2 separate regions of the Homo sapiens genome follow, and region 1 is linked to region 2. The links are contacts of gene promoters, found by promoter capture Hi-C in blood cells and fetal thymus (Javierre and others, 2016). All regions are on one chromosome and are shown on one strand. The core of a region is centred on a gene start or on the middle of the fragment in contact, and the rest is flanking DNA. Distances in the headings are between cores, read along the strand shown.

Evidence for each region. Contacts are between HindIII fragments. The CHiCAGO score rates a contact against its expected background, and 5 or more counts as called.
Region 1: a contact is called between the fragment with the promoter of TMEM91 here and a fragment that was not itself captured in region 2, in 4 of 17 cell types (naive B cells, total B cells, fetal thymus and 1 more). The highest score is 8.2, in naive B cells.

Annotation. Positions count from the first base shown.
Region 1 is chr19:41,375,225-41,378,023 of GRCh38, forward strand. TMEM91 (transmembrane protein 91) reads left to right here and starts at 1,309. Exons shown (of 4, transcript NM_001098821.2): 1 at 1,309-1,630. RefSeq lists a silencer at 1,425-1,554. The HindIII fragment of the contact is 2,591 bases long and covers 1-1,703 here.
Region 2 is chr19:41,564,511-41,567,210 of GRCh38, forward strand. It overlaps a transcript of CEACAM21 not described here and the pseudogene LOC110467527. Among named protein-coding and RNA genes, the nearest start is that of CEACAM21, 10 kb to the right of the region's middle. The HindIII fragment of the contact is 260 bases long and covers 1,164-1,423 here.

The sequences.
Region 1 (2,799 bases), core at 59-2,558, 190 kb before region 2:
TTTACTGTGGCCAAGTGAGCATGCAAGTGAGCCCGTTTATTTTCTTTTCTTTTTTTTTTTTTTTTTTTTTTTTTGAGACGGAGTCTTGCTGTTTCCCAGGCTGGAGTGCAGTGGCGCGATCTCGGCTCACTGCAAGCTCCGCCTCCCGGGTCCACGCCATTCTCCTGCCTCAGCCTCCCAAGTAGCTGGGACTACAAGCGCCCGCCACCAAGCCCGGCTAATTTTTTGTATTTTTAGTAGAGACAGGGTTTCACCGTGTCAGCCAGGATGGTCTGGATCTCCTGACCTCGTGATCCGCCCGCCTCGGCCTCCCAAAGTGTTGGGATTACAGGCGTGAGCCACTGCGCCCGGCCCGTGAGCCCGTTTCTTTATCTGCAAAACAGGGATTAAAAACAAGCCAACACCCCTTCAGCACTCCTCCGCAAAAAAACACCCCAAAACAAAATAGGCCAGGCGCGGTGACTCACACCTGTAATCCCACCGCTTTGGGAGGCCGAGGCTGCAGTGAACCCAGGAGTCTGAGGCTGAAGCGAGCAATGATTGCGCCACTGCCTTCCAGCCTGGGCGATCAGAGCAAGACCCCGTCTTTTAAAAAATAATAATAAAAAAAAAATCTGCCGGGCGCGGTGGCTCACGCCTGTAATCCTAACACTTTGGGAGGCTGAGGCGGGCAGATCACCTGAGGTCAGGAGTTCAAGACCAACCTGACCAACACAGCGAAATCTCATCTACTAAAAATACAAAAATTAGCTGGGCGTGGTGGCTTGCCCCTGTAATCCCAGCTACTCGGGAGGCTGAGGCAGGAGAATCGCTTGAACCCGGGAAGCGGAGGTTGCGGTGAGCCGAGATCACTCCACTGCACTCTAGCCTGGGCGACAGAGCAAGACTCCGTCTCAAAAACAAAACAAAACAAACAAAAAAACCAAAGTAAAATAGCAGCGACAACAACAACAACAACAAGAAAAACCCGGAGCTGAGAGGAAGAATGAATGCGATGATGAATGTAAAGCGTTTAACACAGGGCTTGGGTACAGTCTGCCCTCAATGAACCAATGATGTACCCCTAGGCAATTTACCTAACCTCGGCTTGCCAGTTTCCTCCCGCGTGAAACAGGACAATAAACGATTATGCCTCTTAGGGTTGTGCTGAGGAATACATGTGTATGTAAGTTTATTTGCAAAGCACTTAGAACAGGGCGCACGGTCCTTGTTGCTGTTATTATTATTGGCTATTATTGCGCAAAGGGGAAGGGAGGCGGGGCCAAGCCAGGAAGGCCCTGGAGAATCCGGGGTGCCCCCTCCTCCGGCAGAGCTTGGGCCTGGGCTCACGAGGAAGGGGCTGCAGTTCTCCAAGGATTCCCGCCTGCTCCCAGACCCCCGGGAGTCGTAGGAACCCGTTCCTGGACGCTGACGTCGGCTTTCAGGGATCCCTCGCCGGACGCCGCGGAGGGACAGAGCCTGGGAAGCCGTCGCCCCGCCCCGTCCCCGCCCCCGCGCGCAGCGGGCCCGGGGCGCTGAGACCCGCGTAGAGCAAAGCGCAAGGTCCCAGCGCCCCTTGGATCCTCGGTGGCAGGGTCCGGGCAAGTGTCATTGCGAGGGTTCAGGAAGCCCCGGCCTGTGATCGTGAGCGGTGAGTGAGGGACGTAGGTGGGTGGGGGTCACAGTCCCTTCCCTGGGTCCTGGAGTTGGGGATGAGAGGGCAAAGCTTTGGCGAGGAAATCGGCTCAGTCAAGGTTTGGAATGAGCAGGCAGGAGGCTTGGGGACCTTCCAGGGGGATCGTAGGACGAGAAGAAGAATATTCTTTCTGGTTGTGTTGCGTGTGTACGTGTATGTGTGTGCTGGGGTTGAGGGTGTTTATGGGGGCGAGGTGTGCAAAGGATTCTGGAGAGCTGGTGCATGTGTGGGAGTTGTGTGGAGTCATAGGTGTGTGGGTGGAGTAGGGCAGGGGTGCCTGGGCCTGATGAGTGGGGCAGGCATGCCAGAGGTCATGAGAATAGGAGAGAGTGCCGGGGTGCATGTGTGCGTGTGTGCACAGGTGTCTGTGGTTTGTGATGCAGTGGGGAGTAGGGTTGTGCACGGAGTCAATTGGGATAAATGTGTAAGAAGGTTGGGGACCTGAAAGGGGTGTTTTCTGGGAGCTGATGTTTTGGGGCAAATATTCAAGGAGTCCTTTGGGAGATGAATGTGTGGAGGTGGAGGCTGGGCTTGCCTAGATGGGGCTGTGTGGCAGGGGACTTCGGGGGGCAGGTCTAGGGGACAGAGGATGGGGAATGTAGACTAGAGTGCAGTTCCAGGCAGCACTGGGGGTAGGGGATGGGTGTGTGTGTGACTGGGAGGGGTGCCTGGGCCTGGATAGGTGGTCACGCGGTATGAACCTGGGATGGATATTGGGGGTGTTTGTGGGGCAGGTAAGTGTGTAAGGCATGGTGCAACAGGTGCTGCAACTTATTGGGGTAAGTGTGATGGGTATGTGGCTTTTGCCTGAGAGAAATGCCCAGAATTTGGCTGGGTGCGGTGGCTCACGCCTGTAATCCCAGCACTTTGGGAGGCCAAGGCTGGTGGATCCCCTAAGGTCAGGAGTTCGGGACCAGCCTGGTTAACACAGTGAAACCCTATCTTTACTAAAAATACAAAAAAAAAAATTAGCCGGGCATGGTGGTGGGCGCCTGTAATCCCAGCTACTCGGGAGGCTGAGGCAGAATGGTTTGAACCCGGGAGGTGGAGGCTGCAGTGTGCTGAGATCATGCCACTGCACTCTAGCGGATCTGCAGTGGTGGATCTGCCTGGGCAACAGATGG
Region 2 (2,700 bases), core at 44-2,543:
CAGGGAAAAACGGTAGGAGTAGTGGAATTTCACATTTCGCCCTCTGCCTGCATGGCCAGTCAACTCCGCCCCTCGCGGAAACAGGGGGTGGGCGCGGGACCAACTACTGATCCCCTCCCCTGTCTCTTCACAGCGCTGCAGTCAGGCTCAGCCGATGCTTCTTTCCTGCAGGTTCCGCCGAGCCCGTCCCTTGGCGGTGGTGTCACTGGATGCTGGGAAGAGATGGTGGGAAGAGCCTCCATCCATTGGCGCGTCACTAATTAGACAAGGAGGCCTTGGGCTCCCTTGAGAGAGTCACGGTTTCTCCTCCGTTGACCCGCCCTTCATTGAACTCCTTTACTTGGATATTCAGAGCGCTGGACAGAGATCACTTGGCGCTAACACCCTCGGAGGTCCTCACGGCGCTCCGTCGGAATGACACAGTCGGATTCCCAAGCTGCGAAGGGTGAGGGAGGGACTGCAGCGCAGGAACTGAGGAGGAGAGGCCCGCGCGCCCACTGGAGCCGAGCGGTGAGGAATAACCGGACCGACCCCCGACGGTGCGTGGTGAGTCTCCCCAACCTGCACCATTCGCGCCCCGAGGCGCCCCAAGCGCGGCTGGGAGGCCAGCTGTGGCTGGGACGATTCACTAGAAGGGCCGGCCTGCGTCGAGTTTCCAGGGTGGCCGCCAGTGACCCCGGCGGGGCCCATCCCCCTTGCCCTCAGAGCCCGCCCCGCCCCGCTCCCCTGTGGCACCGCCACCGCTACTCCAGGAGGCACAGTGGGGAGGAGAAGGGGGTGGGGAGCCTAAGGAGAGGAGTGAAGGTGTCCTGGCCTGCCTTGGGGAAGGGGCGGGGGCGGGTGCCTCTGGGACACCCAGCCCGGGGGATCAGCCCTGAGAGCCAGTCCTTACCCTGAAGTTACAGATCTGGCTTCCAGATTTCTGTAACCTACCTTGTTCCAACACAGGCCTGAGGCTGTTCCTGTTAGAGACCTGTTGCGGATACGGGTAGGGCCCTGCGGGAGATTTACATCTCCAGTCTTCCCCCCCGCCCCCCGCCCCCCTTGTTTTTCACAGACAGGCTAGAGCAGCGGCGCTATCATAGCTCACTGCAGCCTCGAACTGGTGAACTGGAGGGATCTTCCCAACCATCTTTTGTCTTTTTTAAGAAGAAAAATACAAAAGCTTTTATATAGGCTTACACACAGCTACAGAGCAAATCTTTATCGTATATCCAAGATTATCAACCACTTGACTGTACAACCAGGAATCATAACACATTTGAGAACAACCAGTGGCAAAATAGGAAAATGGGCCAATGAAGAAGATAGGTGACTAATAAATAAAAATCTGATATCAAGTGTAGGCAAGTTGTAGGGAAAATGGGTGATGAACGAATAGAACAAATGCCTGGGGTAAACATCATTCGAAAGCCCAGAAAGAAGCTTTTAGACATCTTTATTGCTTTTTGGGGGGGCGGGGGGGGTGGGGTTCTGGAGGATTGATGGCTGAACTCTCATGAAAAGGGTGCAGTCAGAGAACAAGAAAGAGTTCCCAGGAATTAAAATTGTAAACAGAAAAGCAAATTCAGGGTAATTGCTGAAAGACCCACCAAAGGATCTCCAAGATACAATTGAGAAAATCAACCCTAACATAAAGGCAAAAGACAAAGGTGGGTTATTTGAGCGAGAAGTGGTTTGAGGATTTGCAAATATTTGTTTAGTATTGAATATGTGCCAAGCACACATTACAGAATACGTTACTTATGGGAAGTAACTTAGCCTTGAAGTAGCTCTGTGAGGATGCATGTGTTTCCTTTACCTATAATTCTATAGGAAAGGCAATTTTTAAAAATAAATCAAGGTTGGATTTCATCAATTTTACAGAATACGCATAACTTTATAAAATTTTCAAAATTCTCTAAAAACCTATTGAGATAATTAAACAAGCGTTTTTCTCCTTTAGTCTGTTAATGTGGAGAAGTATTTTCTGATGTTGAAACATACTTGCATTCCTGATATAAGCCATACGTATGATAACATATTTTGCTTGTTTGCTATTATTAATTCTGAATTTGGTTCACTAAGATTTTGTTTGATTTTGCATGTATATTTGTAAGTGAGATTGGTCTATAATTTTCTTGTGTGGTTTTGGTATCATGCTATAACAGCTTCTGAAAATGTGTTAGAAAGTGTTTTCTTGTTAAAGTTTTAAACCTTCTGAGAATTGGTTGAGGAGGAGCTTGAAAATTTGTTAAAATTCACCATAAAAATATCAGGACCTGAAATTTTGTTATTGTTGTCAGTAAATAAAAATTATCAACTGTCTTTTTAATTGCTTTACTGATTATTGCTCTATTCATAATATCCATTTTTTCATGAGTCAGTTTTGGTAATTTACATTTATCGAGATAGTTGTCCGTTTCATCTAAGTTTTAAAATATATTGGTACAGCTATTGTGGTATTCTCTGAATAATTTTAAAATCTCTCTTGTGTCTTCCTGATTTGTCCTATTTAAATTTTTTTGATTAATCAATTTATATTTTCATATTGTTTTCTCTCTCTCTCTCTCTCATAATGTTATGGTTTAGATAGGAATGGTCCAGGGTGGAATGACACAAGTAAAGAAACAATAATGTGGTTTTGTGTACTATAAGGAAACATATAAAAGAAGGCATGGGAATACAAAGGAATCAATTAATTGCACATTAAGTATTTGT